5 separate regions of the Homo sapiens genome follow, and all the other regions are linked to region 2. Evidence: promoter capture Hi-C in 16 types of primary human blood cells and fetal thymus (Javierre and others, 2016). All regions are on one chromosome and are shown on one strand. Each heading gives the region's core, a stretch centred on a gene start or on the middle of the fragment in contact. The rest is flanking DNA. Distances are from core to core; before and after follow the strand shown. Region 1 overlaps MIS18BP1 (MIS18 binding protein 1). Region 2 holds the start of PRPF39 (pre-mRNA processing factor 39). Region 3 overlaps FANCM (FA complementation group M). Region 4 overlaps FANCM (FA complementation group M). Region 5 overlaps TOGARAM1 (TOG array regulator of axonemal microtubules 1).

Region 1 (5,430 bases), core at 1,719-4,218, 120 kb after region 2:
TTAGCTCCTTTGAGATAGTATCAACTCTCAATTTGTATGAAAGCAGCTGACTTATGTATGCTGCTCAATAATTCTGTCAAAACCACAGAGAGGAAACACTAAGTTATTGCCTAGTGTGCAGTTATCAGTTTATTATAACTGGACTTTTTGAGTATTTCTCCTTTAGTAGTGAGCACAATGCTAAGCTGTGACAGGAGGAAAGGAGCCTCTTTGTGGTTCCACTGTGCTACATCTTCATGTATCTTGCTCCTGCCACATTGTCAGCAGGGCCTGTGGGTAGGGACATCTGGTGGTGCTTTGCCCCAGCTGCATGCCAGAATCATGCAGTCCCTCAACAACCTCACACAGAGATACCACCACCTGCTCAGACTCAGCTGTGTGTGCACCCGTCAGACAAAAAAAAGTACATAAATTAACATGGTGTTACAGACATAACCTAGAGGATTTCATTTATTTATGCTTGCTGTATGGAGAGCTCTATCCATATTTAGGCTTGCAATAGCCTCCTCCTATATCCTCATTGGTAGCCATTAACCATTCATTATCCATCTTATTATTTAAGTCCTTAAGGTCTTTTTTCTTTTCCACTTTTAAGTTTCCTTTGGGGGTTACTTACCTTAAACCTTATCATTAGTTCATCTTATGACCTGATAGAAATAGGACAAGCCAGGTACCTGGCCGGTGAGATACCTTAGTATAGGGAAGGCGCTGAAGTTCTGATACGGATATATGGGCAGTAGGGGTCAAACTCAAGTTTATGCCATTTCAATTACCTTTTTACTTTTTGTTAAGGGATTTAACCACTTTCTTAACTCCTAAAACACTATCCATTAACTTCAAGCAGTATAGCATTAGATCAAATATTGGCAACTCAAGTTCTGCAACGGCATTTTTTTTGGCCACTCCAAAATAACCCTTTCTTTTGATCCATTCTATATCCACCAAGGGTCTTTATGGCAGAAATAATCATGGTAGTTTAAAGAAAGAATTATCTTAGTCCAATTGCACTGTTCTTTTTACAGTGTTTCCGTAAGTCCTATAATTATATAACTGCTGATTATTACTATTTTATTTTATTTATTTATTTATTTTAAAAGGAGTCTCTGTTACCCAGGCTAGGGTGCAGTGGCCAGTTGCAGGCATGATCATAGCACAGTTCAGCCTTGAACTCCTGGGCTCAAGCTATCCTCCTTCCTCAGCCTCCCAGGTAGTTGAGACTACAGATACATGACACCATGCCTGCTCTGACTAAAACACTTAAGAAACAAGAAAATGTTATTAATCATTTTTTTTTTTTTTGAGGAAACTTAAACAGGACCAGTCATGATTTGTTTTTATTTCTATCATCCAGTAATTAGTAACAAACAAAAAACAAGAAACAAATACTATAAAAGCAAACTAACTTTATTTGAATAATCTAAATAGAGAACAAGGGTAGGTGAATGTGTAGCCAGAGGGAAAATATCCTATGTCAAGTTTCAAAACATAACAAGCAAAAATAAGTTTATTTCTAAAAGAAATTTCAGTGAAAGAAAAAGGATGTTTATTATGACATAATATATTGATTCCTAATGGTGGATCTATTAACTGTTTGTCTAATCTAGTCAAAATATTTAAGCTGTTTCTGCATATGTAAATAAGGCTTAAAAATTAGAGAACAAAATCTGTTCTCTAATTTTACCTAGTAAAATAATGGTAAAGCAATAAACTAAATTTACAAAGGTTTCATAGATATGCCTATCACAAGTTTAAAATAAAAACAATCAGGAGAGAAGCATGTCAACAATGTGTAATTTAATTTCAACAATGTGTAATTTAAACATTAGGTTTGGATAACAACTGGTAACAAATCCTACTCTGGCTTGGATAATAACTGCTAACAAATGCTAACTTAAAAGTTTTCATGAATTCAATAGCTACCAATACAACCTCTGTCATCCTTCTCACCTTCTCTTACTTAAATGGTAGCAAAATTTTCTTGAAATAAAAAAAAATCTGTTTGGGAAATGGTTTTCTTAAAGTAAACAGACTTGGATGCTTATTAAAAAATTATCTATATATATTTTAATATGCAAAAACAAATTTACAGATATCTACACGAGCAAAAACAATTTTCTTTACATTTTTAGTAAGCTGCAGCAATGAGGATATTTTACTTTGAACACAAACATATGAAACCTTCAAAAAAGTCCACATTTTCATAGGAAGCTACTTTACAAAGAAAATACATGTACTCCAGTTGAAAATACAAACACTGTCTGCTTTATGGTAAAAATCCCAGGAATCATATTTTCTCATTTTACTATGCAGAATCAGAGTTCGAAAAATAATAATCTTTCTCTTCTTCATCTAAAGATTCCACAGCATTAGTGAAAAGTTTTCCAATACCAGAGTTTTCTCCTAAGTCTGTAAAGAGAAGTTTAATAAAAAGATAATAAATTTCTAAAAGTACTTTCAATAAAACTGAAAACAACTATAAGGAATAAAATGCTAAGTCTGTCCACTTGAGAGCAATTAATTTTAATACCATTTAAATAAAGAACCTACCTTATAATAGAACTGAGCCACAAAAGAAAGCTGTAAGTGTATTACCTGTGTTAAATGGGGTTTTCCTTCTTGGTGTTGGAGTTGAGAAATCAGTTTCAACCTATAAAAGAGTTACTATTAATAGCTAAATGGTACCTCCTGGTGAAGTCTACCTCAAATCTAGACAAAATTAAGCATGCTTATCCCCAGATTACTTTGAACATATGCCTATAACAACATTTAATCACATTATAATTATCTGTGAAATGCATAATTCTCTTTTGGGTTTATCCAGGGCAAGAACCATGACTTACTCAATGTTGTTTCCCAGTGCTGGCAAACACTCCTCTAAGAAATTATTATAAACTAATGCTATAGCAGTTAAAGGATAGTCTATGGGCCTCCAAAAGTTGCCAAAATGTGCTAAGTAATTAAGTAATGAATATACTGGTTTGGTAAACTTAAAATATAAACACAATTTATCATGATTATATATAGTAATTATAATTACAATACTATACTGTACTATTACAGTATAGTAATTACTATACAGAATACTAATTACTGTATTACTTTTACCTACAGTCTGTTATTATAACAGTACAATGTTTTATACCAGCAGAATTTTAATTCTCTGTACTTGAAATTCTTGGCTAAAATGGTAAAGTAAATGGCAAGTTTGAAGTACATGCTCACACACATTACAATGCTTATCAAACTATTGGCCATGGCTGGCAATCCTTAAAAATCTTTTAAAAATAAAAAGTAACAGAACAGAAAATATAGTAGCCCTTAGAGTAAGTACTGTTTTAAGAAATTTTTGAGATACAAATTCATGCTCACAGACTGTGATATAAATGTATTTTTTTCTGAGATGAGGTAAAACACTGCATTATATCATTTAGACCTCAAAATCATTTGGTAACATAAATCAATATAATCATGATCCCCATTGTCATACCACACATGAATAAAATGGTATTAGAAAGCTCAAGTAACTTGCTCAGTGTCATAAAGCAAGGGAATCAAGGGGGTTCCCATAAGTTACCATTCTCGAAGATTAGCTACTTAGAGGAAATTTGAGATGAAATACTTTTTCCAGAATCCTAGTACTTATATATGATAATCAGTTATTGCAATTAAAATCAGAAAATTAAAAATTTAAAAAGTAATTCAAGGGGATAAAGGACTGTCCTAATCTTTTCTCTAAGGGATATAGATCATTCTATTAAGGCATCTTTCAGTTAAAAATTTTTCTGTAGTTGGATTTTAAATGTTAGAATGTAAAAAAATAAAAAGTAAAAAAATAAAATTAAGTAGCTAAATCTGAAAAACACCTGAAGCCATTTTAAAGCTACATAGAATTTGATGAAATTTCTTACTTTATGAGAATTGTGACTCAGTCTGAATTATTCTTCAATCCTTGAACAGGATTGTTTTTGTGTTTTGTGTTTTTGTGTTTTGCCTGAAATATCCTTCCCAGACCTCTGTGTATATTTTTCCCACCCTTCATTTCCCAAAAATCAAAGTTTTTAGCCATTTTCCCCTTGCTCCAATGTTTCAGTCAATGTGATGCCATCTGTAATCCTACAGTACTTATGTGCTTACCTCATTCATGGCTTCATTATTGTAACTTGTTACATTATAATCACCTCAGGGACAGGGACTGTTACATGACTTACAACTACCACAGTTTATCACATATTAAAGTTGTTTCATAGATATGTATTGGATAAAGAAAAATACTTACTAATTTTTTCTTGATGTTGCCCCAGACAATACCACCATTACTTTTATGATATTTTTGCATACGAAAAACATATTTATCACAGTCATTCCTGTTTGAATACGAAATAATTTTAAGTCAACAATATTTTTAAGTCAACCTAATAATTTTAAGTTAACTGTCATACTTTTAACCACAGGTTGAACAACAATTGCCTAAATTAATTTCAAATGTATTTCTTTTTTTGAAACAGGGTCTCACTCTGTCGCCCAGGCTGGAGTGCAGTAACATGATAATGGCTCACTGCAGCCTCAACCTCCTGGGCTCAAGTGATCCTCCCAACTCAGCCTCCCAAGTAGCTTGGACTACAGGCACGTGCCATCATGCCTGGCTAATCTTTGTATTTTTCTTAAGAGACAGGGTTTCACCACATTGCCCAGGCTGGTTTCAAACTACTGAGCTCATCAAGCAATCTGCCCTCCTGGGCCTCCCAAAGTGTTGGGATGACAGTCGTGAGCCACCACGCCTGACCTCAAACGTATTTCCATCTTTAAAAAGTACATTCTGTATTTTAAAGAGGACAATAAAATGTGCCTATGGAGATGGACAAAATGCTTAAATCAAACATTTTACAGGAAATACTGATCAAGACTATTTTGGGAAATTATGCTTTGCTTACCGTTCATTGTACCGTCTACGCTCTTTCCGGTATCTTGCTGCCTCTCTTGGTTTTCCAAAACTCCCACTGAGACTTCTTCTCCTTGGACTCCCTTTTGCTATACCATTATCTCTCCTGTTCACTTCCTTCCCTGTCCTAATTGAATCTCAGTTTATTCACTTTAAAGATATGCCTGGTGATTGAAAACTGTCAATTTTTCCAACTGTGCTGGGTTTCTAATCCAGCTCATCAAGCCTTTTATTTCTACAAAATTTTATCTTTCTTGAATTCCCCATACCAACCACCAAATTTTTTTTCTTTATTTCATTTCCTTTACCTTATCTCTTCCCTTACAAGCAAATATGCTTCACTCATAACTGAAGAGATTAAAAGCCAAGTAGAATTGTTGGTTGTTTTTAATTCCCTAAACCCACAATTCCTAATCCCACTTATGACAGTAAATACCAGCTGAACATCCATTTCCATACTCTCTCTTGGCTCTAAGATCTTACATACCTGA
Region 2 (5,593 bases), core at 1,664-4,163:
AACCTTTGTGTCCACACTCTGTATCTCGCTAATCTAGTGGGGAGGTGGAGAACCTTTGTGTCTAGCTCAGGGATTGTAAACACACCAATAAGTGCCCTGTCAAAACAGACCACTTGGCTCTACCAATCAGCAGGATGTGGGTGTGGCCAGATAAGAGAATAAAAAGCAGGTCGCCTGGGCCAGTAGTGGCAACCTGATTGGGTCCCCTTCCACACTGTGGAAGCTTTGTTCTTTTGCTCTTTGCAATAAATCTTGCTACTGCTCACTCTTTGGGTCCACACTGCTTTTATGAGCTGTAATACTCACTGCAAAGGTGTGCAGCCTCACTCCTGAAGCCAGCGAGACCACGGGCCCACCGGGAGGAATGAACAAGTCCAGACACGCCACCTTAAGAGCTGCAACACTCACCGCGAGGGTCCGCGGCTTCATTCTTGAAGTCAGTGAGACCAAGAACCCACCAATTCTGGACACACCACTACCCTCTAAACTACATTATTTGGTATAATATCTTTTTTCTTCCCAAAGTTTATAATTGTGATACACAATTTTAAAAAAGTCAACTAAGGGTAAATCAATTTTTTTTTTTTTTGTCTTTTGTTTTTGTTTTGAGATGGAGTCTCACTCTGTCTCCCAGGCTGGAGTGCAGTGGCACCATCTTGGCTCACTCCAACCTCTGCCTCCCGGGTTCAATTAATTCTCCTCCCTCAGCCTCCTGAGTAGCTGGGATTACAGGCGTGCGCCACCACACCCAGCTAATTTTTGTATTTTTAGTAGAGATGGGGTTTCACCATGTTGGTCATGCTGGTCTCGAACTACTGACCTCATGATCTCCCCGCCTCGACCTCCCAAAGTGCGCTGGGATTACAGGCATGAGCCACCACGCCCTGCCGGCTAAATCAGTTTTTAAGATAATGTATGTTTCTGCCAGCGGGGATCACATTTTAGGCAAAGAGAAGAGCCCACTTAAAGGTTTCCACGCATAAAAGGGCTGTGGGAACAGTAGGTTCTGTGGAGTTACGGGGAGGCAGAAACAGTGAGAAGGCTGGCATGATTATGAAAACACCGTATTTTCCATTCTAAAAGTTTAGGATTTCTTTAAAAAAAAAAAAAAAGTGGAGGAGGAAACCAGTGGAGGTTTTTAAGCGGGGGAGTGAGAGCAATAGCACCGGCTTGAAAGGTAAAATGTAAAAACTAGATAAAGGAAAACAACGAATCCACAGTGAATGAAGTTGAAGATGCAAGTAGATTTTTATAAAATGGCTATTTGAGTGAATGACATCTCAGAGATAATCTTATTTACTGATAAAGAAATTGAGGCCACCTTAGAAAGACCAAAGAACCAGAAAAGGAGTGAAGGTCATGCCAAACAGTCCCTGCGTAACAGTGCCAGCAGCAAACTCTGGTCTGTCTTCCCAACGCACCACTCCCTTGACTATTCTTCCCACAGTAAACATTTAAAAGCTGCTGTTTAAACCTGTGAAACAAACAAACAAAAAACATGGCCACACTGTCAGAGAATCCAAAAAAGTTAGCTTGGAAAGTAGAAGAGGCAAATGGAAAGGGAAAGCTACTACTAGGTGCAGTGTGATGCAAGTAAAAGGTAGGAAAAAAGACTGAATTTGGTATTTCGAACGAAAGGTGCTGGTGAGAGGATTTATGATTAACCTGCGTTGTGACAAGAAACGTCGTCTTGTAAATAAGTATTTCCAGAGGAGACAGATTTCAGATGAGGAACTTGGAGCCCAGTAGTAATACTAATGCACCTGGAACAACAGATTACATGGTAAGTGACAGGTGAATGCGGGGGCACCAATGTAACAGAATCTTAAAGGGAGAGAGGCCAGATTTGAAAGAAAATTTTTTTTTATTAAAGTGGAGATGGTGGTACAACTGAAGAGGACTGCTAAGATTGTTAACGCACAGTCCCCCTCAATTTGTCCAGAGGATAACATATCCCTTCAGATACAAAGATTTTTTTTTTTGCTTGGCCAACTTTAGTCAGGTTTCTGAATCTTCTGCTAGGCTCTTCTGTACACTTTCTTTGTAAAATCCAGTTTAAGCAAAGAACTTTGCTAAGTCAGATTAGCAATAAACCCCCATCCTTGATAGCTGATCATCCTCAATATCTGATCAGGTTCTTCAGTCTCCACCATCCCCCAGGTGATGCCTCATTATCTTGGCCTGTCTTCAGCAAAAATCCTATTAGGTGGGTTTAGCCAAAATCCCCCTTACCCTGATGTTTCCTCTTAGTAATTATACATTCACTTACCACCGCTCCTTGGCTATAAATCTCCACTTGCCCATGCTGTATGAGGAGTTGAGCCCAATATCTCTTTCCCTACTGCAAGTCTCCATTGCAGTCAGTGGTCCCTATACCTGTTGCGATGGTCCTGAATAAAGCCCTCTTTTTGTGCTTTAACAAGTGTCACTAAATACTTTTTTCTTTAACAATAGCCCGTTCTCCAAACCCCTAACTCCAGAACTGTTTAGTTTTCAGGAAACCTGAGTGGGCCCAGGGTCTATACCATCGTGAGATTTGTGGGTTTAAGGCTGAATTTCTGCCCGTTTTTAGGTAAATGTTTTAGTGTGAAAGCTTGAACAATTGTAGGGAAAACCTTAGATTTGCCCCCAAAAATGACATTTTGCCGTTTTTGGTGGGGAGGGGTCAGGGCGCTGTGTTTAAGATCAGGCGTGTGAAAGCCCCTAAACGCCCTCCTTTCCTTTGGGAAGTCCCTATGGAGGGAAAGGCAGGTAGGCGCAGCGGTCCCCGCCCTCGCTCGCGGCGGGGCGGGGCGGGGCTGCGGGGGCGGGGCTGGGGCCGCACGGGCAGCGAGGATCCCTGGGAGGGCCAGGCCTGCGCGCTGCGAACCCACGTGACTTTTTCGCCTCCAGGGACACTGACGCATGCGCATCGTGCCCTGGACCAGGCGGCCGTGGCGCGGGTGGCGGCTGCTGTGCTGGCTGTGGGGACGGAGGCGGTGAAGTGCCATCTTCGGCTAGGTCGTCACAGGCTCCGGCTCATGGCATCAAGTGGCATCCATCATAAGGTCTGCTGGGGCGGGCTCCTTGAAATTAGCTGGGGCAGAGGGTGGTACTTGGTACTGAAAGGGGCCTGCCGGGTTTCAGGCCGCGCTCTGGCCGCGGCCTCCCTCTCCCGCCCTGTTTGAGGCCTGGCTCGGATTCAGCGCTCAGCTGTCCATTCCTTTCTCCTTCCCACCTGTTGGGTGGAGCGGTGCAAGGTATTTTTTTCTTAGACCAAACGTTTCACTTGAGGGGTGCGTTAGGTAGGGTGGAGAAGTGTGGGCCTCCTTCGCCTGGATTTAGGAAGATATTTGGGGGTAATTCTAAAGCCCTTGCTTCTCCCGGAGCTGGAACACGGCTGGGGTGGCTGGAAGTGGAAGGAGCACATTTGCAGCCGCCAGAGGATTGGGAAGATAATATACGTTCTATTACTAAGGCATGTGAGCGCCTTGTAGGGCACGTTCTGTCTTCTGACTACATAAGCAACACTTTTGCGACCCTAAGTCACAGCACCCACAGCTTTTGGCAGGATACTTTAAAACAGAAAAAACACATCATTGATCCTGGCAGGATTTTTTAAGGGATTGTGCTTAAGAATGTTTAACTTTGGTAATCAGAGACCACCACTGGTGTTTTTCTCCAAAATCACATCTTTAAGTTAATTAATACTTGAAGTTAATAAATAATACTGCTCAGTGTATTAGTAATGATGCCATAATACCATGTGAATTTATGCTGATTCAAATGTTGTTTTTTTCGTTTGATACTCATATGGCCTTCTGTTTGAGGACTTCAGATTATTTAGCAACTGATTTAATCTGTTCAGAAATAAACTTTGCTACAGCTGGAAAGCGTGAGGCTTGAGAAAGCAAGTTTTGGACAGGGACGTATGAAGCTCATGTTGAAACTTAAGTGTTTTAGGCTGTATGGGAGCTTGAATGGAGTGAAAAGAACAAGCGTCTACTGTCAGGTTTTCCTCCTCCCTCTAGATTTATAACCTCATTCTAGAGTTGCAAAAGTTGGAACTTTCCACTGTTCACTCTCTAGTAGGGATAAAGTGATGGAAAGGAGTTCTGTTAAAGAGGACTAGTACTTAGATTGTGAACTTTGAAGTAGGGGTTGAGCATAGATGGCTCATAGGTGGTATGAGACACTATTTGTGTAAAGTCTCAGAATATTTTTCCTTGCTTATAATTGAATAAGAAAGAAGATGTTTAAAAGTCAAATGATAAAAATTGTATGTGCTGTTTTCTGTGGTATGTTTTAACAAATCTACATGGAAGATAGGACTTCAAAAAAAATTAAAAATAGCCGAAGGAGGAAGAAGGTAGTGTAGTTCCAGCCAAATGGTACGTTTTCCAAAAAGCCGAAGATTGATGTAGACGTTTATGTAAATACATATACAAAATCTAGTTTCTGGAACACAGTGTTTAATATGTAGAGACTTTAAAAAGTCGGCGTGTGACTACTTAGCCCTTAAAAACAGCTGCCAAAACCAGTGGTTATGATAGTCTCTTTTCTTCTTACATCCCAAATCTCCAGATTGCCTTGTGGATGAGATTTGCTTATTGCAAAGCTACTTGTTTTGCTCTACCCAAAACTCCTTTCAGTCTTTAGTGATGACTTCAGATTTTTATATATTGCTGTGTTTATGAAAAAGAATAGTCAATGGTATAATTTTTAAGTACCTCTACAGGAATAAGAGGCATACAGAAAAAAAAAAAAAGGTATTAGGTCAAAAGATGGCATTTCACTCTCGTTGCCCAGGCTGGAGTGCAATGGCGCTATTGGCTCACCGCAACCTCCGCCTCCCGGGTTCAAGTCATTCTTCTGCCTCAGCCTCCCCAGTAGCTGGGATTACAGATGCGCGCCACCACGCCTAATTTTTTGTATTTTTAGTAGAAACGGGGTTTCACCATGTTAGCCAGGCTGGTCTAGAACTCCTGACTTCAGGTGATCTGCCTGCCTCGGCCTCCCAAAGTGCTGAGATGACAGGCATGAGCCACCGTGCCCGGCCCAAATGTCCCATTTTTAATTAAGTGTTAGTAATTGAAGTCATCCTCCAAAAGACCTTTTAAATTTTAAGATGGCATAATTGTCACTGAAATACTTAATGTACGTCATAATTATACTAAAAGTGAAAGGTATGATAAATGTATTTTTTATATATTGCCTATTCACTTTATGTTATGTTTCATTTTATACTTGTGTCCTTTGTGCCTATCATATGATTTTATAATAAAGTGTAATGTAGTGAAAAGGAATCGACTGGTTTGGTGAGTTGAAAAAGGGAGGACTTTTATTAGTCTGGGGGAACAGCTTTTGTCAAGGCTCAGAAAGGAAAAATCTAAGGGACTCTGGAAATGGCAATGAGGAGGAGTATTGTAAGATTAATACTTTTGGAAAGTTAAGTTGAGACTGGATATATCATTCAGAGATATTTGTTGTGCTGTTACACGGCAAGTATTATTTCAGGTTCAAGGGGGACAGCGGTGAACAAAACTGATAAGGCCTCATTCTCACCCAATTTAATTTTTTTTTCCTTTTACTCTTGTTGAGCTGTGATCAGGAA
Region 3 (4,667 bases), core at 1-2,500, 100 kb after region 2:
GAGAATTTTCCCAAACCATGTTCACAATTAGAAGACTTCAAGGTTTGTAACGGGAATGCCAGAAGAGGCATCAAAGTCCCAAAGAGACAGAGTCACTTAAAGGTAATCTTTTTTTTAGTTTCTTTAAATATGTATGCATTTTATCAGTAAAGATAATTGGTTTTACATCAATGTAGATTTCTCTATACATTCTCTTTATAGAAAAAAATTAAGTATTTTGACACCCATTTAGATTTTTTTTACTGGAATTAAATTCAAAGTAGTTTTTTTTTGTTTATCTTTGTGTTTTGATGCTTTATCTTGCAGTGTTGTGTTACTTTGAATGAATACCAAAAAACTCAAGTGTATTGAGAATTTATGTTTCAAATTGAAGAAAATATAGAATTAGAAATTTGAGTTTTAAGATGTTTGCTTTTATGATCATTATATTGTTTTTCTTATTTGTATCCAATTTTCAAATACTTGGAAAATGTTCTCAGTACCTTTCCTTTCTGATTAAGTTCTTTTGTGGTGCAGTAATTTTCTTGAAAGAGCTGGAAAGACTCAGGAAATTTTATGCTTATTAAGAAACATCAAGCAGGCTGGGCGCGGTGGCTCACGCCTGTAATCCCAGCACTTTGGGAGGCTGAGCCAGGTGGATCACCTGAGATCAGGAGTTTGAGACCAGCCTGGCCAACATGGTGAAACCCTGTCTCTACTAAAAATACAAAAATTAGCTGGGCGTGATGGCACATGCCTGTAATCCCAGCTACTCGGGAGGCTGAGGCAGGAAAATCTCTTGAACCAGGAAGCGGAGGTTGCAGTGAGCCAAGATTGCGCCACTGCACTCCCGCCTGGGCAACAAAGTGAGACTCTGTCTCAAAAAAAAAAAAAAAAAAAGATCAAGCAAATATACCAACTTTTACTTTATTTTATGACAGAATTATCAGAATTTTTAAATAGATAGGTAACTTTATCATTTCTTCTTGGGATTTTCTTTTTTTTTTTTTTAGACAGAGTTTCGCTGTTACTGCCACAGACTGGAGTGCAGTGGCACCATCTCAGCTCACTGCAACCTTCACCTCCCAGGTTCAAGTGATTCTCCTGCCTCAGCTTCCCGAGTAGCTGGGATTACAGGCATGCGCCACCACACCCTGCCAATTTTTTTTTTTTTTTGTATTTTGTAAAGATGGGGTTTCACCATGTTAGTCAGGCTGGCCTTGAACTCCTGACCTCAGGTGATCCACCTGCTTCGGCCTCCCATAGTGCTGGGATTACAGACATGCATCACTGCACTGGGCCTAGAAATTTTGTTTTTATTATTTTATTAATCTTAAAAGCATTGATAAGAAATCAGTTTTCCAGAATTATTTCCAATCATGAAAGAAAATTATTTTCTCACTGATATCTTCATGTTTTCTAATTTGTCTTACTTAGCATGTAGCTAGGAAGTTTTTAGATGATGAAGCAGAACTTTCTGAAGAAGATGCAGAATATGTTTCATCAGATGAAAATGATGAGTCAGAAAATGAACAAGATTCCTCATTACTTGACTTTTTAAATGATGAAACTCAACTTTCACAGGCTATAAATGGTAAATGTTATAATGATCCTTAAAATTTTTTTCAATGTTTTTATGTGCTTATATTTAAATATTTTAATCAGTTTTTAATGAAACTAGACCTTAAAGGTAATTAAATGTGGTACGTGCAAAATATTTATTTGGTCATTTTCATTCAAATTCTTTAATACTTGCTTTATTTTAGACTGATTGTTCATAGGCTTCTGCTAATTTGAATATTTCTCTTCAGATTGACCTGGGTTGCTCAAGTGTGAAATGTTCATTTCACAAGTGTTTATTGCCCGCTACATGCCTAGTACTATGTAAGGCATTTAAGAACCATATATGAATGAACAAAATAGACAAAAAATTTCTTCTTATGAAGCCTACATTCAAATGGAAAGAGACAGACAATATATATACTAACTAAATTATTTAGTTTATTGTAAGATAAAGAGTTACAGAAAAATAAAAAAGTTGGCCAAGATGAGAAAAATTTGGAGTAACTGGGGTTGAGGGTATAAATAACAGACAAGTTGCCATTTTATTGTATTATTTTTTAGTTTTATTTTTTTAGAGACAGAGTCTTACTCTGTTGCCCAGAGTAGGGTGCAGTGGCGCAGTCATAGTTCACTGCAGCCTTGAACTCCTAGGCTCGGGAGATTCTCCTGCTTTAGCCTCCTATAGGACTACAGGCATGTGCCACCATGACCAGTTAATTTTTTTGGCCTTTTGTAGAGATGTAATCTCACTATGTTGCCCAGGTTGGTCTCCAACTCCAGGCCTCAAGCAATCCTCTCACCTTGGCCTCTCAAAGTACTGGGTCTATAGCTGTGAGCCACTGCACTCTGCCTAGCTGTTATTTTAAATAAGGCAGTTAGGAAGAGGCCTCATTGAGAAGGTGACATCATCAGAGACTAGAAGAAGAGAGATTTAGTGATGTAGATTGTTAAGACCAACTGCAATACAAAGCTAAATTTATTAAATTTGCCATGTAAGGGCAGTTTACTTTCAGAAAACAGTGTGTTCATCCAATGCTTGAACGGATCTTACATACAATATATTTAGAGGAGATGGTTCAGATTGGCTGTAACAGAAGTGAGAAATATTCTGACTATATCTCTTCAGTATTCTAATCTTTCACAGATCTCATCATTTATTCTGCTTTTGCAGTCTCTGATATTATTTAAAGTGACAAAGTTTCTCAAAGTTCGTGACTTTTAAGAAAAAAGTGTTTAAAAGGCAATGTTCTCAGTACTGTCCTTAATGCTGATATAATTTGTATAATTTGCAGGATAAGGTTTTATGTCCTTGATGTTCATTAACAGAAGTGTTTTGCAGGTTTACAATATAATCCAGTGGAAGAATGTTGATGCAAAGACAACAGCCAGTGCAAAGGCCCCGAGTCAGTAGTGTGCCTGGCCTGTTGAAGGAATAGTGTTGTGACTGGAATGAGGGAAAAGGGAAGGTAGTAGGAAGATCAGAGAACTAGCAGCCAGATCATAATCTGACATAATTTAGTAGAATCTCTCCAGCTTCTGTGTTGAGAATGGCCTATAGGGGAACAGAGGTAGACTGAGACCAGTTAGGAGACTGTTGAGGTCCTCCAATCAAGGAATGCTAGTGGCTTCTACCAAGATAGTAGCACTGAGGAGAGTGAGAAAGATTGGATTCTGGATACATAAAGCTGACAGGATTTTCCAATGGATTAGAAAAAAAGGAGGAGTCAGTAGGCTTGAGCAACAAGAAGGACATATTTGCTGTTATGTTATTGGGAAGGCTGCAGATGAAGCAATTTAGATGGTGATTATAGAGGTTTGAAATTCCATTTTAGACACAGTATGTTTGAACTATGTACAATTTCAAAGCTTTTTTTTTTTTTAAAGTACCTCGAAATTCACATTATCTTTTGTTTTTATGTATCATGTCTCAAGTACCTTTCATTATATTATAACTTTTAAAAATGCTAGCCATAAAAAAAAACCAATGTGTTTCCCAGGTTTTGCTTAACTGAAAATTATGAAATATACTTTTTATTGGCTGTGGGTTTTAATGTTTTTAGTGCATATTTGCTTTTCTGGCTAGATTTCTTATTTTTTTTGAAACTTCTATAAATCTGGTACAGTTTTAAGGTCTTTGTATACCTTTGTTTTGAAAGAAAAGTCACCATTTTAATCCTCATTTTCAGAGAGATAGATAAAGCAGGGAACTTAAGTTGTCCATGATCACTCAACTAGAAAATCTGATTTCAAAGGCTAAACTCCTAACTTTATATTTTTGAATAATTGTTTATAGATATCTTTTAATATTTATTGTCTTTGTGTAAAATATTTGCACAAGGTTTGAATCAAGTAAATTTGAAATAGATTGAAGTTAAATACTTTACTGGTTTTCATTTAAATAATTTTGCTAATTTATCTAAATTCTTATCTTTACACAGATTCTGAAATGAGAGCTATTTACATGAAATCTTTGCGTAGTCCAATGATGAACAATAAGTACAAAATGATTCATAAGACACATAAAAACATAAACATTTTCTCGCAGGTATGAACTATAGAAATATAATGGAGAATTTCTGGATGATGATGTTGAAATATGTTCCTGTTAGTGAAGCCTCCATTTTGTTTCTAAAACTGGGCTGTCAGAGCTATTTGAGATCATTTCTGCCCAAAGTCAGGAAGCTCGACTAAATGGATTCTCAAGATCCCTTTTTGGCCATGTGCGGTGGCTCACGCCTGTAATCCCAGCACTTTGGGAGGCCGATGCTGGTAGATCACCGGAGGTCAGGAGTTCAAGACCAGCCTGGCCAACATGGTGAAACCCCATCTCTGCTAATAATACAAAAATTAGCCAGGCATGGTGGCACATGCCTGTAATCCCAGCTACTTGGGAGGCTGAGGCAGGAGAATTGCTTGAACCCGGGAGGCAGAGGTTGCAATGAGCCAAGATTGCACCATTGCACTCCAGCCTGGGCGACAAGAGCAAAACTCCATCTCAAAAAGTAAAAAAGATTCCTTTTTTGTCCTTGGTTGATCAAAATTCATTTTTTTTCATAAAAATGTTAAATGCTGAAAATTATAGGTTATGTCACTTATGGATAACATTTTCATATTAGTTGTGTTTG
Region 4 (5,578 bases), core at 1,742-4,241, 71 kb after region 2:
GAAAAATCTGCAAGAATACAATGTAATGATTTGAATTAGGATAAATTTTACCTTTTAACTTTTTCTTTTTTTTTTTTTTGAGACAGAATTTCGCTCTATTGCCCAAGCCGGTGTGCAGTGGTGTGACCTTGGCTCACTGTAACCTCTGCCTCTCAGGTTCAAGCAAGTCTTGTGCCTCAGCCTCCCTAGTAGCTGGGACTACAGGCACGCATCACCACGCCTGGCTAATTTTTGTATTTTTTAGTAGAGAGAGGGTTTCATCATGTTGGCCGGGCTGGTCTCGACCTCCTGACCTCAGGTGATCTGCCTGTCTCGGCCTCCCAGAGTGTAATCCCAAAGATTACAGATGTGAGCCACAGTGCCCAACCTTTCTTTTTAACTTTTAAGAAGAATTTGTCTTTTAGTCTATTTATTTTGTAAAGTCTCAAAGCCATGAGAAGGTAGATTGTAACTGAATTTTAGACACAGAACATTTATTCTTACTCTCAATACCAGAGTTTGAAGGAAGCATCACAGCAAGCTTCTTATTTCTAACCTGCATTGGAAAAAAATAAATGGATAAAAAAATATCTATCAAACTAGGTCCAAAGTCAGAGAAGACACTCATAGACACAAAAAAGGGCACCGAGTCGATCTTTGAACTGATAGGGAATGCCTGTGCAAAAGAACAGAGGCAATTGAATTAAAGCATGTGGGAGACAGTGAGCAGACCAATTTGGCTGAGGATTTGGAAACTGGATATGATAATATAGGTTGTACTACATGAGAGTAGCTTTAAGTATTATACCACGAAACCGGATATGATAATATAGGTTGTGACTACATGAGAGTAACTTTAACTATTATACCACGAAATGTGGTCTTTATCATATAGTATCTGGGGAAGCACTAAAGGAGTCTTTTCTGCAAAATTATAGTATATTATTATTTAAAACTTTAAAAAGATGTTTTGATTTCTGCTAGGAAATAGTAAATCTAAACCTGTTGAACTAGATCTTAACTGGAACTGGTGAGAGGTAATTAGGGTACCATTTTAGGGCATTTGTTAGTATCCTGGAATATTTAAAATCACTAACATTGATGTTAAGTGCTACTAAAAATGTTAGAAAACAGTAGTCTTCATCTCAAAGGAAAATAATTAGAATATGTTCTCCATGCTCTCCTTAAAAACTATCTTATCAGATAGATACACATACCATGTACTTCCATAAAGGAATGTGTCCTTCATTTTTCCATGAGAGTAGTGGTTGAAAGCACAAGGCCTCTTAGCCAAAATTCCTGGGTCTAAATAGTGGTTCTGCTACTTAACATTTGTATGAGCTTCCTCATCTATAAAATGAGCATAACATAGCTACCTGCTAGATACTAAGATTAAGTGAATTGTGCAAGTAATGTGCTTAGAATAGTTTCTGGGGCTCAGTGTCAGATATTTTCACAGGACGTATACTTGGTATTAAAGGTTGGCATTAAAACAGTCTGATTAAATATTTGTACTTTTGCCAGTAACATTCATGAGGATAGGCCATATCTAACTTATTTCCCATTTCCATTGTATCTAGCTCAGTGCTTGACAGGTAGTAGATGCTTACTATATAGTTTTGAAAGAACAAATATATCTATATACTGCCAATTAATTTACCTGTAAAGAAAAACAATATAATTTTTTTTTCCTTTACTTATTATTTTTAAAATGTAAGTTTCCTGTTTAATTAAAGAAAAAGAAATAAAGGGGCAGATTTTACATACAAAATACATTGGTACCTTTCCATAGCAACATCCTATAAGATGACATTTAATAACCAATCGGTTATAGCAGTGTAGAAGGGAATGATGATTATGATCATTTGGATTATATTATAAATGTTACACTGACTATGGCCTGACAACTTGGGCATGGAGCATGTATGTTCATTTATTTCTCTGGTTAAATTTGACATATGCTGTTTTTCTAGGGAATACAACAAGGCATAATCGAGGGAGAGTTTGCTATTTGTATTAGTTTATATCATGGTTATGAATTATTGCAGCAAATGGGAATGAGATCATTATATTTCTTCCTTTGTGGAATTATGGATGGAACTAAAGGTAAATTATATCAAATTATTTAAAGAAATAATGACATGTATTATTTTGGCTAAAGACATATTGAAGGGCTGGGCACAGTGGCTCATTTCTGTAATCCCAGCACTTTGGGAAGCCGAGGTGGGTGGATCACTTGAGGTCAGGAGTTCAAGACCAGCCTGGCCAACATGGTGAAACCCTGTCTCTAATAAAAATACAAAAATTAGCTGGGTATGATGGTGCACGCCTGTAATCCCAGCTACTCAGGAGACTGAGGCGGGAGAATCGCTTGAACCCGAGAGGCAGAGGTTGCCTTGAGTCAAGATCATGCTGCTGCACTTCAGCCTGGGCAACAGAGTGAGACTGTCTTAAAAAAAAAAAAAAAAAAGACATATTAAAGAGTTTGGATTACTTAAAAATGATTTATTTTAAAAAGCATTGGAATAATTAACAAATGGCCATGTTTCTTTGTTTTTAATAAATTCCTGGAGAAAAGGAAACCATTCATTAATACATATATGAATGTAGAACTGCAAAAAGTTTCTGGTTTTCATGTTTACACTTGAAAAACTTACATTCATTGCTAAAGTTTAATTTCTTTTTAATAAATAATACATTTTATCAGTTTTATTATTATTTATTTGAAAACCTTTTCTTAATTTCTGAAGGGATGACACGGTCAAAAAATGAACTTGGCCGAAATGAAGACTTCATGAAACTCTATAATCATCTAGAGTGTATGTTTGCACGTACACGTAGTACTTCAGCAAATGGTATTTCTGCTATCCAACAAGGTCTGGTTTTTCTTTTAAAATTATGTATTGTGTTGTGTTTCTTAATCACAGTTAATTTTGAAATTTTGCTCCTTTGATGCAAATGTCTACAATTATTTATATTTTGTAGCAACAGATCTGTTAAATGTGTAAATATTTCATTTTTTAAGATTAATATATATTCAAATTTAAAGTTTATATGCTTTAAACAATGTTTAAACTTCTTCAAACAAGTTTACAAACTTTAAACATATAACAGATGTTGGTAATTGTTAGTGGTAGTAAAAATTCTCAGAACTATCAAAACCTGATTTATAGTTAGATATGTATTTTTGCTTTCTTTGCTACTGATTCCTCTTTAGGTTCTCTCAGAATGAAATTTTTATGAAAGTTCAAAGTTCATTTTACAGTAAGACTTACGTGCTACCTAGATGTTACCTCTGGTTTAAGTTTTTTAAAAATTAAAAAAAAATCCAACATATGCATTGGAAAAGATAACTTTCATATACATTAGTGTAATTGAATATGGAAAAAAACAGAAAAAAATTTTGATATTTTTGTTTTGTTCCAGGAGATAAAAATAAAAAATTTGTTTATAGTCATCCAAAGTTAAAGAAATTAGAAGAAGTTGTAATTGAACACTTCAAGTCATGGAATGGTAGGTCATATTTAGTAGCTTTAAGGCAAGACAAAGTTATTGCAAGAGGTAAAACTTTACTTATGGCTGGGTGCAGTGGTTCACACCTGTAATCCCAGCACTTTGGGAGGCCGAGGATCACGGGAGGTCAGGAGTTCAAGACCAGCCTGACCAACATGGTAAAACCCCGTCTCTACTAAAAATGCAAAAATTAGCCAGGCATGGTGGCACATGCTTGTAATCCCAGCTACTTGGGAGGCTGAGGTAGGAGAATCGCTTGAACCTGGGAGGTGAAGGTTGCAGTGAGCCGAGATTGTGCCATTGCACTCCAGCCTGGGCTATAAGAGCAAAACTTGAAATAAATAATCTCGAAAATAAAACAAACAAAGAAAAACCTTCAACCTATTAGTTTATTCTAACATTTCTTATGGAGAAGGTGGGCTTTTAATTAACTCTGGATAATGAATACTAAAAAGCTGTGAGAAATTTTGGAAGGGCTAGGGCAAGGGTGGTGGTGGGAATGTTAAGAATAAGGTACTATATAAGTTAGCATGGGGTAATATAAGGGAAGTGGAGAGTAAAACAATATATAGTACCAGTAAAAGAGTAAAGTAGATTAGGAGAGAGAGAGTTATAGAGGAGTGCTGTTTTATATAGCATGGTTATAGAAGACTTCTCTGTAGAGGGATATTTAAAGTGATGATGGAGATAAGGGAGGAAGCCTTGTGAGTTTTGGAGGCTGGGGGAGAGATAATTCCAAGCAGTAAAAATAGCAGATTCAAAGGCCTTGAGGTGGCAGTAGGGTGCTTGGTGTGATTAAACAGACCAGTGTGGTTAGATTGAGGCTACAAGTATGACTGAGCCTACAAGTGGTATAGATGAGAGGTATGCAGATAATATCAGACTTTAGTTTTTAATTTCTGAATATTTGTGCTTTGCAAAACCAAACAGAGGTATTTGTAGCAGTGGAATGACATGACATTTTAAGGATCACTCTGGTAGTTTTGTGGAGCATAGACATTGATAACCTAGAAAAGTATTACGATAGTCTTGGATGATGACACATAATAGTGGTGTTCATCAAGGCAATAGTGGTCAAGGTGCTGGGAGATAGATTCTAGATATATGTTCAAATTGGAGCCAACTTATTTATTGTATTTGTTGATGGATTAGACGTATGGTATAAGAAAAAGGGAATTGGCCAGGTGCAGTGGCTCACACCTGTAATCCCAGCACTGTGAGAGGCCGAGGTGGGCAGATCACGAGGTCAAGAAATCAAAACCATCCTGGCCAACATGGTGAAACCCCGTCTCTACTAAAAATACAAAAATTAGCTGAGTGTGGTGGTATGTGCCTGTAGTCTCAGCTACTCGGGAGGCTGAGGCAGGAGAATCTCTTGAACCTGGGAGACGGAGGTTGCGGTAAGCCAAGATTGCGCCACTGCACTGCAGCCTGGCAAAAGAGTGAGACTCTGTCTCAAAAAAAAAAAAAAAAAAAAAAGGAAAAAAGGAATCATATGGCTGGGTATATACATTTATGTGTACATGTTTGCAAATGATTACATGAGCAAAGTGAAAAATGAAGAATAGAGATAAGTATGTGAGGTAATATGTATGTTAATTAGCTTGATTTAGCCATTTCACAATGTATATAGACATCTCAAAACATATTGTACAACATAAATATATACAACTTTTATTTGTCAATTAAAAAAAAGAATAACAAAAGAAAGAGCAAACATGTTAAGATGTTTTTGAGACACCTAAGTGTCAAGTAGGCATTAGATAACCAAATCTGGATCTCAGAAGAATGATTGCTGCTGTTTTTACATATTTACATATATGTGAATACATTTTGGAGTTATCAGCATAAAGGTAATATTTAAAGTTTCAGGAATAGATGTGATTATCAGGACAACAGTTTAGAGATATACAGAGGAGGGTCCAGAATGGAGTCCTGAAGAATATCAACAGTTAAGAGTTTGGAGGAAAAAAAGCTTGGGGAGGAAACTGGACAAGTAAAATGTTAGAGAAGCTGAAGAAAGAGACTATTTCAGAAGGAAAGAGGAAAGTGTGTTAAACTAAAAAGTGTCGATTGAACTTGGCAG
Region 5 (5,605 bases), core at 1,111-3,610, 71 kb before region 2:
AAATGCCTTTAATGAATTTAAGATTTCCACATTTAAGATTAGTGGCTTTAGAACAATTATTCTTATCCAGCTTGCATACTGCCTTAAGATTCATGGCCAAAGAAAGCCACTACTACTACCTGATTTAAAGATTTTGTCCTTAGGTGGGTTGGGGAGGAAAAATTGTTGAAAACCACCCTCCTAGAGACTGAAATTTCTTCTTTCATCCAAGTCAACTACACTTAATATAAATGTAGATTCATAATAATCTGTTATAGAGAAATTGCTCTTTCAAAATATTTAACACTGATTTCTCACTAGGTCCACTGACAAATATATTTCTCTCCATTTACTGAGAATTGTACTTCTTTGTAAAATCTATTCTTTTTAATATTCATTACTAACTTACTGACATTGTAACACTTACTGATTTAAAACAGTTCCCTTAAGCTCAGATTTAACATTCTTCAGTTGGCTTTCTTAATGAAAAAAGGCCTATAGGTATTTATAATGTCAGGAAAGTACAGGAAAGAATAGTCTAAGCAGAAAGTGGCATTTACCAAACTTACTCATTGCTGATCTCTTACTTATAATATAGCCAAGTCTGTATTTTTGTGTTATCATATATAAGGATAGGTAGTAGTTAGATAATTAAGAATGATTTGACTTGTTATATTTATTTTCATTTTTTTGAGACAAGGTCTCACTGTGTCACTCAGGCTGGAGTGTAGTAGTTCAATCTCAGCTCACTGCAACCCCTGCCTCCTGGGCTCAGGTGATCCTCCCACCTCGGCCTCTGTAGTAGCTGGGACTACAGGTGTGCACCGCCATGCCTGGTTAATTTTTTAGTTTTTTTGTAGAGATGGAGTTTTGCGATGGTGCCCAGGCTGGCCTTGAACTTCCTGGGCTCAAGTGATCCTCCTGTCTTGGCCTCCCAAAATGCTAGGATTACAGGCATGAGTCACCACACTTGGCCTTGATTTGGTTTTAGAATGGATTCTTGGATCATTTTTTTTTTTCCTTAGGGATTATACAGTATAAGTCAGAGTCATTTTCTGTGGCAATCCTGTCTTGAGTAATTAAGAATTGGCCATATGTTAAAAAGGTTGGTAGTCCAAAAGGTGAACTAAGAATAGCAAAATATATATGTGTGTGTGTGTGTGTGTGTGTGTGTATACACACACACTGTTAGCCATAGTTTTTCAAGTGTCATACTTATTGCTCCCTTATTATCTAAAAGGTCTGTGAGTTAATAAGGAGAATAGACAATATGTGATGTGAGTATTGAACAGCACTAAATCTTAATGTTTATTGAAATTACTTTGTTTCATTGCAGGTCAGACATATTTCCAACATTTGGGTCAAAACCTTGTCCAACAAGACTTTCTTCTGCAAAGAAAAAAATTTCTCATATTGCTGAACAAAGCCCCAGTGCAGGTATTCTATGTCTGTTTATAAAAATAATTTATAAAATATGATTTTCAAATGATGTAAAAAATGATAGCAAGTGCATTTCAGATTTCATGTTGTTGTGCATACTGGTTAAGACTAATCATTTTTTTACTCCTTAAAAGGTCCTTTTGACAGGAATATGATATTGTTTTGGAAGAAAAAAATATTTATTTACCTGAATCATCAATCTCTTTTAAAGCTCAATTGGCATACCTATGGCTGGCTCCTACACCTAGATTTTTTATGTAGTTGGTGTGGAGTGTTATTTAGCTGGTGTTGGCTGTCAGAATTTTGAAAACTCCTCAGATGATTCTAATGTGCAGCATAGTTTGGGAACCACTGGACATCCCGAAAGACAATTTTCTTTAAAAACAATATTAACTGTTAATAGTAGTTAAATTCATGTGTATCTTGTGTTAAGAATTTTTGTGAACTAACCTGTAAGTCTTTAGTTTTATAACATCACTTCTCAGAAAATAGATTTAGTAATTAGTAGTCAATTAGAAAAAGATTTGCACTATGATCTATTTAGGGTGAGAACTGCATGTGATTCTTCATTATGATTAGTAAAACTACGTTGAATTGTGAATAAACTGTAACAAATTGGTATATGATGTTTAGTTTCACATGATCTAATGTAAAAGTCCTAACAACTTTAAGCTGCTTTATATTATAATCACCTTCCTAAAAAACTGTATATGTATTTGATTATTTGCTAAGATTTTAAATTTCTTGCTCTTAAATGTGTCTTAATCTCAACCCCTCTTTGTAATCCCCACTACCATGGCTTTAGTTCACACTTTTCCTCATTTATTACCTACTTAGCCGCCTAAATTTTCTCCCTGCTTCAATCTCACTTACTTTGAAACTGTTCCCCACAGTGCAAATCTGACTATACTGGCCAGCCTGAATTCATTCTGGACATGCTTTCATGATCTGGTCCCAGCCTACCTCTCCAGCCTCATTTTTCACTGCCCTCTTTGTATCTTGTACTTTCCCTGTTTGTATCCAGTTAAATCAGACCACCATCAGTACCATTTCCTATCTCTTTGCAAATGCACATACTGTTTTTTCTGGATGAAATCTAGAATCCATACCACACCCTATTTAGCTGTGAAAAGAGCTCAGTTGCTTTCTCTGGGAAGCCTTCCTTAATTCACAAACAAGATTATTACCTCTTTTGTTATACCATTACATCTTGCACTGACACCTTTTATAATGATACTACAATTGCTTTACTTTTCTTTAACTCTCAGATTCTTGATCCCCAAAGATTATTTCCCACTGATTACCTATCAAGGCTTATCATAATCGGGAATGTGTGACTTAACCAGGTGTGTTTAGTATACTGCCTTGCATAAAACTAGTGTTAACAAAGAGATAGCTGCACTTCTAGGCATACAAAGACAGTATATAAGTGCTTTGGAGTCCAAAAGATGAGCTGACACCCCAGTTTGATGTTTAATAATAGTATTCATACATTACACAACTTACTTAACTGCTTTGGAACTTAGTTCCCTCATCTGACAACATAAACCTTGAGAAGGGTAGTGAAAATCTAAGTTCATGACATATATAAAGCAACTAGTGCATAGTAGGCACTCAATATGTATTTGTCCTCTAAGGGGAGAGAGTGACCCAAAGAAATACATAAACTTATCCTTAATCCTTTTTCAGGCTGATCATCCTAATCTATAATTTTTCAAGTATTTCTGTAAAATTGAAGAGACATCTGATTACTAGATTGTATCTACTTTGTAAAAATGGAACCCACTTTTGGAAGAGTATCTTTGGAAATGGAAAATAATAGATTTTAAAAACCTGGATTTGAGTTCCCTTGTGACCCTAGTCGTGTGACCTTGGGAGTCATTTAAGTTTTAGCAGAGTGATCTCATAATAGTATAATACATACTTATATATGCAATATTTAGTGTTTTCCAAAGTTGCGTAATCTTTTTTTTTTTTTTTTTTTGAGACAAGAGTCTCGCTCTGTCGCTGAGGCTAGAGTGCAGTGGCGTAATCTCAGCTCACTGCAAGCTCCGCCTCCCAGGTTCATGCCATTTTCCTTCCTCAGCCTCCCAGGTAGCTGGGACTACAGGCGCCTGCCACTACGCCTGGCTAATTTTTTGTGTTTTTAGTAGAGACAGGATTTCACCATGTTAGCCAGGATGGTCATGATCCACCCACCTCGGCCTCCCAACAAAGTTGCCTAATTTTAGGAATCACCCTTGAGTGCATGTAACATCTGTTAATTCTGGGGCCTCATCTCATGCCTCATGAATTCATCTTTCTGGTTAGAAATCTGTATTTTTAATAAGTAAATTAGGTATTTCTAGGATCAAGTTTTAGAAATACTACTATTATTGAATTCATTATATTAAATTTAACCTTTTCTCAAAATAAGTTGCTAATGTTTCGGATTTTATATATTTGGGTTTGCTTTGTTTTCAGTAAACAAGTGATTCCTACAAATTTATTGTGGCTTAATTGGTAAAACATAAAAATGATAACGCTCAGAATAAAGACTATTGGATGATAAACACAAAAATAACAATTATTTTAAAATTCCACCTATGTTCTGCCACTACCTATTAAAGCAAATTGTGCTAAATTTTCTGAATGATATTACAGTAAACTTCTTCTAGTATATTAGATTAGTGTTGCCTATTAATAGAAAACATTTCCACCCAAAGCCAGTATGTTTATGAGTCTTATTTTATGAATTAACTATCAAGACAGAATTTATAAAGATAATCTGTGTTTTCTACAAATTCTCTATGATTTAATATTGGATATTCTTGAAACTTTTCTCTGTGAACTTACTTAGTGCCCTTTATTCTACAGTCCTTTCTAGCTTGTTGCCCCAGCTACCTCCTCTTCCTACCTTCCTGTTTTTATTCAAATACAACATTATTTTTTAAAAGTCTATTTCACTGGGCACAGTGGCTCACACCTCTAATCCCAGCACTTTGGGAGGCTGAGGCAGGTGAATCACTTGAGCCCGAGAGTTTGGGACCAGCCTGAGCAACATAGCAAAACCTAATCTCTATCAAAAAAATTAAAAAGTAGCGGAGAATGGTGGCGTGCGCCTGTAGTCCCAGCTATTCAGGAGGCTGAGGCAGGAGAATCAGGAGAGCCCAGGAGGTTGAAGCTGCAGAGAGCCAAGATAGTGCCAATGTATTCCAGCCTGGATGACAGAGCAAGAGCCTATCTCAAAAAATAAATAAATAAATAAATAAATAAATAAATAAATAAATAAATATATTTATACATATATACACACATCATTATTGCTTAATAGTTTACATTGGAAGTATATATAAAAATGGACAATGACTCAAATATATAATGCCTAGATTTTGCATTTAGTATATGTTTTATGGTTGTAATAGCTGCAGAGTATTCATAAAGAGTGATGAGTTTAAACATTCAAATGTAAATTAAAATTTTTGTTATTCATTAGAAGGAGACCTACATTAGGGTTTTGCTTTTTTTTTTTTTTAAATTACGGATATAATAACATTTGGGTACTTAAAATGTGTTAGGCACTGTGCGGAGCCCTTTATATGCATTTTCTTCATTTAATCCTAACAACAGATGTAGAAGAGGTACTATTATCTCTATTTTACAAATAAGGTTGAGTGACTTGTCCAGGTCTTCTCAGCAGTTTGAGTGGCAGTGCTGTAATTTAAAGCCAGGAAGCATGATTCCAGATACTGAGCTCTTTATCCCTATGTAGTTTACTGCCTCATCAGTGAAGCCAGTACAGAAGGTTAAATTTCATGGTGAGTTAACTTTTAAGATTTAATATCTCTAAATCAGAATCTTCCCTAAGCATACCAATAAAGAAAAATTACTGAGTATTCTCAGTTTTCAGTTTTTTCGTTTTTCATGGGAATAGGAGAAAAGAGAGAAATGGGGAAATAGCTATCTCTTAGGTCACAGTTTGTAAATTCTGGATTAAAAAAAATTTTTTTTTTTTAGTGTAAAGTTAAAGGTGTCAATTTAAAAAAATACTTGTCAGGCCAGGCACAGTGGCTGACACCTGTAATCCCAGGACTTTAGTAGGCTGAGGTAGGCAGATCACTTGAGCTCAGGGGTTTGAGACCAGCCTGAGCAACATGGCAAGACTGTATGTCTACAAAAAGTACAAAAATAAGCTGGAGGTGGTGGT

The links. The method cuts DNA at HindIII sites, captures the fragments that hold promoters and counts their contacts. A CHiCAGO score of 5 or more calls a contact.
Region 1: a fragment that was not itself captured here is called in contact with the fragment with the promoter of PRPF39 in region 2 in 2 of 17 cell types (monocytes and total CD4 T cells); the score reaches 5.9 in monocytes.
Region 3: a contact is called between a fragment that was not itself captured here and the fragment with the promoter of PRPF39 in region 2, in 2 of 17 cell types (monocytes and total CD8 T cells). The highest score is 7.9, in monocytes.
Region 4: a contact is called between a fragment that was not itself captured here and the fragment with the promoter of PRPF39 in region 2, in 9 of 17 cell types (monocytes, total B cells, total CD8 T cells and 6 more). The highest score is 8.7, in monocytes.
Region 5: a fragment that was not itself captured here is called in contact with the fragment with the promoter of PRPF39 in region 2 in 5 of 17 cell types (activated CD4 T cells, total CD4 T cells, naive B cells and 2 more); the score reaches 7.4 in activated CD4 T cells.

Annotation. Positions count from the first base shown.
Region 1 is chr14:45,201,807-45,207,236 of GRCh38, forward strand. It overlaps MIS18BP1 (MIS18 binding protein 1), which reads right to left. Exons shown (of 17, transcript NM_018353.5): 15 at 4,277-4,364; 16 at 2,593-2,647; 17 at 1,384-2,406. The coding sequence ends at 2,303. Among named protein-coding and RNA genes, the nearest start is that of MIS18BP1, 49 kb to the right of the region's middle. The HindIII fragment of the contact is 8,070 bases long and covers 1-5,430 here.
Region 2 is chr14:45,081,203-45,086,795 of GRCh38, forward strand. It overlaps PRPF39 (pre-mRNA processing factor 39), which reads left to right and starts at 2,914. Exons shown (of 14, transcript NM_017922.4): 1 at 2,914-3,047. PRPF39-DT (PRPF39 divergent transcript) reads right to left here and starts at 2,824. Exons shown (of 2, transcript NR_184211.1): 1 at 2,270-2,824; 2 at 1,846-2,185. RefSeq lists a silencer at 2,619-2,908. The HindIII fragment of the contact is 5,294 bases long and covers 2,592-5,593 here.
Region 3 is chr14:45,183,801-45,188,467 of GRCh38, forward strand. FANCM (FA complementation group M) reads left to right here. Exons shown (of 23, transcript NM_020937.4): 17 at 1-102; 18 at 1,417-1,573; 19 at 3,981-4,087. Among named protein-coding and RNA genes, the nearest start is that of FANCM, 50 kb to the left of the region's middle. The HindIII fragment of the contact is 4,311 bases long and covers 1-3,406 here.
Region 4 is chr14:45,151,968-45,157,545 of GRCh38, forward strand. FANCM (FA complementation group M) reads left to right here. Exons shown (of 23, transcript NM_020937.4): 6 at 1,953-2,085; 7 at 2,730-2,855; 8 at 3,406-3,492. Among named protein-coding and RNA genes, the nearest start is that of FANCM, 19 kb to the left of the region's middle. The HindIII fragment of the contact is 4,947 bases long and covers 519-5,465 here.
Region 5 is chr14:45,010,660-45,016,264 of GRCh38, forward strand. TOGARAM1 (TOG array regulator of axonemal microtubules 1) reads left to right here. Exons shown (of 20, transcript NM_001308120.2): 7 at 1,316-1,416. Among named protein-coding and RNA genes, the nearest start is that of TOGARAM1, 51 kb to the left of the region's middle. The HindIII fragment of the contact is 9,107 bases long and covers 1-5,605 here.